Linked DNA regions of Homo sapiens: regions 1 and 3 are each linked to region 2. The links are contacts of gene promoters, found by promoter capture Hi-C in blood cells and fetal thymus (Javierre and others, 2016). All regions are on one chromosome and are shown on one strand. The core of a region is centred on a gene start or on the middle of the fragment in contact, and the rest is flanking DNA. Distances in the headings are between cores, read along the strand shown. Region 1 has its middle 42 kb from the start of UHRF2. Region 2 holds the start of GLDC (glycine decarboxylase). Region 3 has its middle 26 kb from the start of TPD52L3.

Region 1 (3,157 bases), core at 151-2,650, 270 kb before region 2:
CAATCTGAATGCTGGGGGCCACAATGGTGCTTGTGTCACCCCTCCCCTAGCTCTAGGCAGCTCAGCACAGAAAGAGACTCTGTTTGTGTGGGAGAAAGTAAGGGAAGACAACAAGAGTCTTATGCCTGGTAATCCAGAGAATTCTTCTGGATCTTATCCAAGTCCACCAATATGGTACTTCTATGAGCTTACAAAAGCAACAGCAATACTGCGCTTGGGGTGCCCCCTAATGCAGGTATGGCTGCCATAGGCAAAAGCTTAAATCACAACACCCAAGTCCCTTTGAACACCTGGAAAGTCTTCCCAAGAAGGGTGGGTACAACAAGCCCAGACTGTGAAGACTACAATGAATACTTAACTCCTTAAAGCCCAGACACTGACAAACATCCACAAGAATCAAGACCATGTAGGAAAACATGACCTCACCAAATGAACTAAATAAGTCACCAGGGACCAATTATGGAGAGACAGAGATATGTGACCTTTCAGAGAGAGAATTCAAAATAGCTGTGTTAAAGAAATTCAGTGAAATTCAAGATAACACAGAGAAGGAATTCAGAATCCTATCAGATAAATTTCTTTCTTTCTTTATTTTGAGACAGGGTCTCACCCTGTCATAGGCTGGTCCCCAGTGGCATGATCCCAGCTCACTGTATCCTCTGCCTCCTGGACTCAAGTGATCCTCCCACCTCAGCCTCCCAAGTAGCTGGGACTACAAGTGGGCGCCACCATTCTCAGCTAATTTTTGTATTTTTTTTGTAGAGAGGAGGTTTTGCCATGTTGCCCAGGTGGGTCTCGAACTCCTGGGCTCAAGTGATTCAACTGCCTCAGCCTCCCAAAATGCTGGGATTACAGGTGTGAGCCACTGCACCTAGCCCTATTGGATAAATTTAACAGAGGCCCACTAGCCTAGAAGAAAAAAATGGTTTTCTGGGCTAGGCCCAGGGCCTCTGCTGTGTGCAGCCTAGAGACTTGGTGCCCTATGTCCCAGCTGCTCTAGCTGTAGCTAAAAGGGGCCAAGGTACAGCACTCAGGCCATGGCTTCAGAGGGTGCAAGCCCCAAGCCTTGGCAGCCTCAACATGGTGTTGACTCTGCAGTTGCACAGAAGTCAAAAATTGAGGTTTGGGAACCTCCACCTGGATTTCAGAGGATGTACGAAAACACCTGGATGTCCAGGCAGAAGTTTGCTGCAAGGGTGGGGCCCTCGTGGACAACCTCTGCCAGGGCAGTACAGAAGGGAAATGTGGGGTCAGAGCCCCCACACAGAGTCCCCAGTGGGGCACTGCCTGGTGGAGCTATCAGAAGAGGGCCACCATCCTCCAGATCCCAGAATGGTAGGTCCACCAACAGCTTGCATTGTGTGCCTGGAAAAGCCACCGACACTCAATACCAGCTTGTGGAAGCAGCTGGGAAGGGGGCTGTGCCCTGCAAAGCTACAGGAGTGGACCCACCCAAGGCTGTGAGAGCCCACTTCTTGCATCAGCATGCCCTAGATGTGAGACATGGAGTCAGAGGAGATCATTTTGGAACTTTAAGGTTTTATGACTGCCCTATTGGATTTCAGACTTGCATGAGGTCTGAAGCCTCCACCCAGTGGACAGGTTAGTTGGAGTTTCTCCAGGGAACCCCTCCACCTGGCTGTCTCATTACCCTCTCTAAAGAAGTACATCTAACTGCTGTTAGATTAAGGACAAAGACTGATCTTAACTGCTTCCTGTGACAGAGGGCACTGTTTTGGGAAACAGCAATCAAAGTTCCCTCAGAGGCCTATTTAAGGGTTCCCAGCAGAAGGGGCCATCGTCAGAGGCTCCGGTTGCATGATTGCTTGGAGTTTGATGGCCTGAAGGCAAGAACAGACAAACTGGGTTATTAGAAAACATGTATAAAATGAAATAAGGGGAGGGGTAAGGATTCCGTGGCCTTTTACCAGCTTTCAGAGAGAGGGAGGCCAAAAGCCTGACTGGCAGAGAAACTTTACCCTTTCGCTGGCATGTTGGGCTTCTGGGTTCTCTTCCCCTGAGTCCAATCCTAAGCCAACCAGTTTAAGGTTTGGGAAATTAACTTTTTCCAGTTTGGAGGACACATCTGAGGTGAGTGTCCTGGAGGCACAATTGCCTATCTGTGAAAAGAGGACAGAGGAGAAGAAAGGAAAAAAAGAAGGCTTTTTTTTTCAAAGGAGTCTCAGGGTTCAGGATGCATTCAAAAGAGGTACAGACTGAAGATGAATGGCTACCCATCTAGAAAGAGGGAAGCAGGTATCCCTGGTTTCCTTCTCCTCCTAGCAGATACCCAAGGTACATGAGGGAGGGAAGGAAGAGCGTCCTCTTTCCCTCTTCCATCCTTGCATCCCTGAATCCCGGTGACCTTGGCAGGTCCCACCATGATTGCCAAAGCAGCTTGCACCCATGAAGCAGGGGGTTCCTAGAGAATAGGAATTATCCAATCTCATGTATGCCTCTATTCACCCTACTATCAGTAGCCTTGGAGTTCCCTAGATCTCATTTATGCCATGGATATTAACGTGGCCTTTATCCATGAAACAGGAAGCTTGGGCTTGGCTTAATTGGCAGGAATCAGCCATGCTTACCTGCGCTGTGCCTTTTAACCTCTGTTGTCATTTGGCTCTGGATCCATTAGATCCAGTTTTCTTTCATAGGGCTTTGACCCAAAGCTTGGAATTGAGTTTGGGACAAAAATATGTCTCGGGGGGTTGCATGGACTCCTTGTCATAAACCAAATGCTAAGATGAAACTGTGGAACTATGCTAAGATGAAACTGTGGAACTAAGTCCTCCTCCAACAACGGACAGGAAAGAATGTCTTGTGACACAACCAGATAACTGGTGGCTATAGTTATGCTTGCTAAGATTTGGGTGCATGGTGTTTCACTTTGGTTAGCTCCCTTGGTCTTACTTTCCCAAAAAGGAAACCTCCGAGTGTTGGGTATCCTATTTATTCCCATCACCTTGCAGGATTTGCAGGATAATTGCTCAACTAGAATACTGATTCAGATTTTAACATTACCCATCCCTTTTGTTCTTTTTGAGCTGCAGCCAGGGATTGCTGGTTGGTTCACAGGGGCAAGCAGGGTTTAAAAACAAGTAATGAGTTTAGAATTTAATGATAAATGTATGATAAGTTTTGAAACATGATTTCT
Region 2 (3,312 bases), core at 1-2,500:
CCGCCACTGTTTTATTTTAATCCACACATTCCCAGTCCTGAGCAATCCTTACCCCAGAGCTCGATTTTCAGGGAACCACAAAAGACAAATAGGCCAGAATAATCTAAGTCCAAGGGAGCCCTCCCGGCCACTTACAAACAGGGTCTTCCATTTTCAAGGGTCTTTTCAAACGGATGTTGGCAGGGACCGTCTTCTCGATCAATTCATCAATGCTCTAAAATTAAAACGCAAGGCAGAGGAAAGTGCCTCTGAGTTAAAAGAGTCACCTCTGTGTTTTGCGACTACAAAGCCTTGTGGGAACCTCATTGAAATCGCCTAATTAGGGTTCTTTTTAAAAGAAAAGGAAAACTCTGAGCAAGCCAGAATGATTTGGAGGAAAGAAAATCGTGAAGTGGGGTGGAGATTCCGCCACTCGGGGTTGGATTTCAGTTGCAACCGGAGCTAACCGGTAAGCCCACTCTTAATCAGGGGGTCTTCCTCCTCTTGCAAAGTTTAGGTCCATCCACAGGGCCACTTGGGCTGGGGGTGGTTTAAAAATGTACACTTTTGAGGCACGAAGACTGGGTGCAGGAGAAAGTAAGCTGTTAAGAAGTAAGAAGGCACGAGGACCAAAGGCACGAATTTGCTTCCACGCCACGGCCCGGGACCCAGGGTGCGGGGACCACGCGGAGCGCAGCAGAGCTCAGGGTAGGAGCCGGGAGGCCGCGCAGGCAGAGCCCGGGCAGGGCGGAGGGGAGGCCGCGGAGGGCCGGGTGGAGGTCCTTACCGCCAGCCCCAAGGTCTGCAGCATCTCTCTCTGGTCTTTGTCCCCAGGGCCGATGTGCCTCCGAGCGAAGTCGTCGTGTCTGGGCAGAAGGCGCTCCAGGAGGCGCGAGGCCCCAGCCGCGGCGCTGTCCCCGCCGCCACTGCTGCTGTCCCGGCTCCGCGGCGCCCAGCACGGCCCCGATCCCCCAGCCAGGCGGCGGCCGCCCCCGACCCCGCGGCCCAGGCGCAGCCCCCACGCCCTGGCACAGGACTGCATGGCCGCGGCCACCGTCCCCTGCCCCGGCCCGCAAGGGTCAGCCGCGCTCTTGGCCCCTCTCCTGGCCTCGGTCCCCCGGGTGGCGGCTGCGCCCGGCCTGGAGCCCCTTTCGCTGGACAGTCGGCCGGACAGATGGATGGACGCTCGCGGGCAATGAATGGGCGCTGCGCTCAACCAAGACACTCGCGCAAAGTTGTGGCTCCACCCAAGGCACCTGCTCCGCACACTTTAAGCGGCGCCCTGGAGGCGGGAGGTGGGTTGGGGCCAGGAAGCCCTTGGCCAATGAAAGTAGACAGAGGGGGAGGGGGCGGAACAGTTCCCGCCCCCGCCCCCTCTTCCTACCCTCTTCCCAGCCCTTCCGTGGAGTCCCGCTTCCCCTGGACCGGAGGCTGCCATCTCCAGTCCTACCCACTCCGACGCTGGCTGGTGCCGGGGGCCGGGACGCTCCGTACGCCGCCCGCCAGGGTGTGGAGCCGCACTGGGGCAAGATCAGGTGGGACAGCCCAAAGACTCCGGGCCAAGTTCCTGGGGGACTCGGCGGAGATGGAAGATGATTCTCGAAGCTCTCCATTTCCTTAATTTTGAGGTATCTTTCTCTGTCACATTTCATCTCAGGGAAATTAATATGGGCAGATGGCGGTTCTTTTATCTTTGCGGGAGCGTGATAAAGTTACTCAACCTCTCAGAGCTTCAGTTTTCTCATCTCAACAGAGCTGGATGGGATTTTAAAAAGAGATTATATGTACATGGAAAGCACTTGAACAGTAGATTTGAACACCCTCTCTATATTTCTTTTCTTTTCTTTCTTCCTTCTTTCTCCTCCTCCTCCTCCTCCTCCTTCTTCTCACTCTCTCTCTTTCTCTCTCTTCCCCCCCACCACATGTAACGCTATGGCTCACGCCTGTAATCGCAACACTTTCGGAAACCGACGCGGTAGGATAGCTTGAGCCCAGGAGTTCGAGACCAGCTTGGGCAGCATTGTGAAACCCTGTCTCTACAAAAAATACAAAAATTAGTGGGGCGTGGTTGCGTGCTTCTGAAGTCCCAGCTACTCTGGAGGCTGAGGTGGGAGGATTGCTTGAGTCAGGGAGTTTCAGGCTGCAGTGAGATGTGATCGCACCACTGCACTCCAGCGTGGGCCACAGAACGAGACTCAGGAAAAAAAAAAAAAAAAGAACTGTGTGTGTGTGTGTATATGTTTTTTTAAATATATGTACTGTATATACATATACGTGTGTGTGTAAAACTACAAAGGATATTTTGTTGTTGTTTTTGAGACGGAATCTCGCTCTGTCGCCCTGGCTGGAGTGCAGTGGCGCGATCTTGGCTCACTGCAACCTCCACCTCCCGGGTTCAAGCGATTGTCCTGCCTCAGGCTCCTGAGTAGCTGGGACTACAGGCACGTGCCACCACGGCCGGCCATTTTTTATTTTTATTTTTAGTAGAGACGGGGTTTCACCGTTTTAGGCAGGATGGTCTCGATCTCCTGACCTCGTGATCCGTCATTACAGGCGTGAGCCACTGCGCCCAGCAAAAGTACAAAGGATATTAAGATAGACATTGTTCACTGTCGTCTTACTTTGAAAGTTAGCCATCTAGAACTGGATTTTTTGTAAATGTACCATCTCCAGCTGTCTCATGACAGTTTTAGCAAGAGAATGAACTTTTAAAATTCCAGTTGTTCTAATATGGGGAAGAGAGGACAGAAGTAATCAGAACATTACTTGTACTTAGACTAGGGGAAAATAAAACCTGTTCTCTTTCTTGCTTATCTGCTAAGTTTCCTCCTCCAATCACCCTTAACAGATTCTGGGCTCCGTACCCAGGAGGCACAGACTATCCAGAGAGGCAGGAAAGTAGAGATGGAAAAGAGGGCAGGAAAATACACCACAAAGAACAGTAGGTAAAATGTCTGTATGGCAGACGGAGGCGGGTGGTGAGCTAGGACGGCTGGGCTGAATGTCTCCGAAAAGTTTTTCGGCCATTTGGAATTGAAATTACAACCTTCATAAAAGTTGGGAGATCTCCTCAGTGCCAGATGGTGGGGGTTGTGGGGAAGGATTGGAGGGAGGAGGTAATCTGCATTTATTCCTATTCCTGTCTATGTTGTTTCTATGTATCAGAGGGACTGGAAGCCAGGGAACAATAATTCCCAGATCCCTTTGGCTCCGTGGTGATGGATGTTATTTGCCTTCTGCCAAAAAAAAACATGTATATATACACACATATATGTATATGAGAATTGGGGCCGGGTGCGGTGGCTCACTCCTGTAATCCCAGCACTTTGGGAG
Region 3 (3,157 bases), core at 414-2,913, 290 kb before region 2:
TAAATAAATTTGCGGGCTTTTCTCTTATTAATCTGCATGTTGTTACAGGGACCTTAGCCATGAACCTAAAATAGGTAGAAGGAAAGATATTTTTCCTTCCCTATGAGGTAAAGTAACTTTCCCAAAAACACACTGCTAATAAGTGGCAGAAATGGGGTTTGAACAAGGATTCTGAATATAGACCACCACCCTCCTTATCCATTATATGGCATATTTATAACACCTGACCCTCCAACCAACTAATCGACCTGGGCCTTGTCTGAAAGGCAATGGAGGTTCTAATTATTTTTGTATGTGATTAAAATAAATGTTCTTCCTTCGGATATCCATATAGCTAATTCCCTCACATCTGTATGGAATAAATTACGTCCCTCCCCAAATTTATATGTTGAATCCCTAATCCCCAGCATTCAGTGCAGTATCCGACACACAGCAAGTGATCAATAAATAAATGACAAGAAGAAAGAAAGCTCAGGAATTGACTGAGTCTTCCTCAGACCAAACTCCATGGGACAGGAAGGAGGCAGGGCTGAGCCAAGAAGAGGGACCTGGCTTATGCTTAGAAATGGGGTAAGCATGATGACAAATTACAGCTTCAACAAAAGATCAGGGTAGCTGGAGTCAGAAAGGCAAATTCATCCAAACCAAGAAGGCATCTTAAGACGCTAAAAACTGAAGAGCATGAAGGAAGCCAAAGACTAATTCTGCCATAGATCTGGTTGTTAAGCCTCGTGGCTCTTTTTTTTTTTCTTTCTTTTTTTGAGATGGAGTCTCGCTCTGTCACCCAGGCTGGAGTGCAGTGGCGGTCTCGGCTCACTGCAACCTCCACCTCCCGGGTTCACGCCATCTTACCTCAGCCTCCCGAGTAGCTAGGACTACAGGCGCCCGCCACCACGCCCGGCTAATTTTTTGTATTTTTAGTAGAGACGGGGTTTCACCTTGTTAGCCAGGATGGTCTCGATCTCCTGACCTCGTGATCCATCCACCTCGGCCTCCCAAAGTGCTGGGATTACAGGCGTGAGCCACCACGCCCGGCCAGCCTCCTGGCTCTTAATCCTCTGCTCACCTCACCTGCTCAGGTGTTGCCTCCAGAATGCTTTAAAGTATTCTGTTCTGACACTCTTTTGACCTTAGCCCAGGCAGGATTGATGGTGATCTAAGGAAAGATACGCAAGTCTACTCAGCTCCTTCAAAAGTTTCCTTCTGCCTGAGCATAGTGGCTCATGCCTATAATTCCAGTGCTTTGGGAAGCTGAGGCAGAACAACCGCTTAAGCCCAGGAGCTGAAAACCAGCCTGGGCAACATAGCAAGACCCTGTCTCTATAAAAAACAAAAATTAGCTGGGTATGGTGGCACATGCCTGTGGTCCCAGCTACCAGGGAGGCTGAGGTGGGAGGATTGCTTGAGCCTCAGTTCAAGTTCGAGGCTTCAGTGGGTTATGATTGCACCACTGCATTCCAGCCTGGGTGACAGAGTGACACCCCATCTCTAAAAGAAAAAAAAAAGTTTCCTTCCCTTCTAGAACTTCAGAGTTTTAGAAAAGAAAATCCTTAGCGTGCTCTTCCAGGTGACAGCTCAAGGAGTCTCTTCAGACTCCACTGGAAATCTCTTGCTTGGGCCAACCTTCCCCTACTGTCCATCCCTTTGCCACTTGAATTTCACCTCTCTCCATGGTCCCTTTTGATGGCATCTTAGTTGTGGTTTTTACTCCGAGGTACTGTCTCTTGAATTACTTTACTCAGCAGTCTCTGAGCAGCCCAACCCTGCATCCCGGGCTCCTGCCCCTGCAGGAAGGGATTTAGCGAAAAGGAATAAAAAGAATATCTGTAATACACCCCTTCTTCCAGCAACCTCCCACACTCACACCTCTTCTTCAACACAAGGGGGTGCTACTCACATGGTCATTTTACACTATTCTGCACTACACAAACTTCATTGTGATGTTCTTCACCCCCATACCTCCATCAGCCACAACTCTTGAAGAAATGTTTATGAAAGCCTAAATCTAGGATTCCCCCTGAAATGTGGATGAATTTTACACCAGTTCCTTAAGTTGAAAAATATTTGCCATTAATGAGGGCTTAAACCTTACCTGTAGAAATAATTTGCAATACAAGAAAAGGGTCAGGGAAATTTTTTAACTCCATAGAGTATGGGACTAAATCCATGTATTTACTTCCAAGCCAGGCAAGTAGAGGGGACTCTATTCTGATCTAAAATGAGAAGAGAAAAATGCTTCTCTCAAGGAAGAGGTTGTTTGTGGCAGTGAAGGGAGAAGCAAGAGGATCAATGTTGAGGGTCAGCAGATGAAAAGAAAGGAAGTAAGCCAGGAGCTGCCCAAGCTGATCAAGAAAGACTCACAGCTTCTCACGAGGTGGCATCCTCCAACTCCCAAACTCTGAAGGCCTCCAGCTCCACATCTCATTACCTTCCTCCCAATCATCTTCTAGGGAGAATTTTCTGCCCTAGGCTACAGAGGCTCAGAAATGAGGGAAGTTGGGGAAAGGAAGATTCCCCCATGCCTGGCATCCTTAGCTGGTCCCACACATCTTCCTATAAAAATACTCTTCATGGGCCAGGTGCAGTGGCTCAAGCCTGTAATCCCAGCAGTTTGGGAGGCCGAGGCGGGTGGATCACAAGGTCAGGAGTTCAAGACCAGCCTGGCCAACATGGTGAAACCCCGTCTCTTCTAAAAATACAAAAATTAGCTAGGCATGGTGGTACACACCTGTAATCTCAGCTACTGGGGAGGCTGAGGCAGAAGAATTGCTTGAACCCAGGAGATGGAGGTTGCAGTGAGCCGAGATCGTGCCACTGCACTCCAGCCTTGGTGACAGAGCAAGACTCCATCTCAAAAAAAAAAAAAAAAAAATGAGGTGGTCAAGTCCTGTAATTCTGGAACTCTACTTCAGAGGATTATGGATTAAACCTAGCTAACCACCAGGCAGACATAATGTGGTTACTATGGAGAACGCATCCTGAGTCCCACAGAACTTACTTCTGCAAACGAACCGCTGGAATTCTGCCATTCTGACATGGGGACTGCTTGTGTAACCCTCAAATGAGGGAGGAAGATGTATTGACATCTTTTGGACCTGTTAGATTCATAAGACAAGGAATAATTTTGTATCCTTTTTGCTTGAGAGCTTTTCATATT

The links. The method cuts DNA at HindIII sites, captures the fragments that hold promoters and counts their contacts. A CHiCAGO score of 5 or more calls a contact.
Region 1: a contact is called between a fragment that was not itself captured here and the fragment with the promoter of GLDC in region 2, in 1 of 17 cell types (endothelial precursors). The highest score is 5.2, in endothelial precursors.
Region 3: a fragment that was not itself captured here is called in contact with the fragment with the promoter of GLDC in region 2 in 1 of 17 cell types (M0 macrophages); the score reaches 5.2 in M0 macrophages.

Annotation. Positions count from the first base shown.
Region 1 is chr9:6,369,814-6,372,970 of GRCh38, forward strand. No RefSeq gene overlaps it. Among named protein-coding and RNA genes, the nearest start is that of UHRF2, 42 kb to the right of the region's middle. The HindIII fragment of the contact is 2,291 bases long and covers 256-2,546 here.
Region 2 is chr9:6,644,479-6,647,790 of GRCh38, forward strand. GLDC (glycine decarboxylase) reads right to left here and starts at 1,251. Exons shown (of 25, transcript NM_000170.3): 1 at 767-1,251; 2 at 136-214. The coding sequence starts at 1,021. RefSeq lists enhancers at 461-1,018, 1,999-2,108, 2,159-2,258, 3,245-3,312 and silencers at 699-768, 809-1,008, 1,079-1,328. The HindIII fragment of the contact is 9,537 bases long and covers 1-3,312 here.
Region 3 is chr9:6,352,410-6,355,566 of GRCh38, forward strand. No RefSeq gene overlaps it. Among named protein-coding and RNA genes, the nearest start is that of TPD52L3, 26 kb to the left of the region's middle. The HindIII fragment of the contact is 5,954 bases long and covers 1-3,157 here.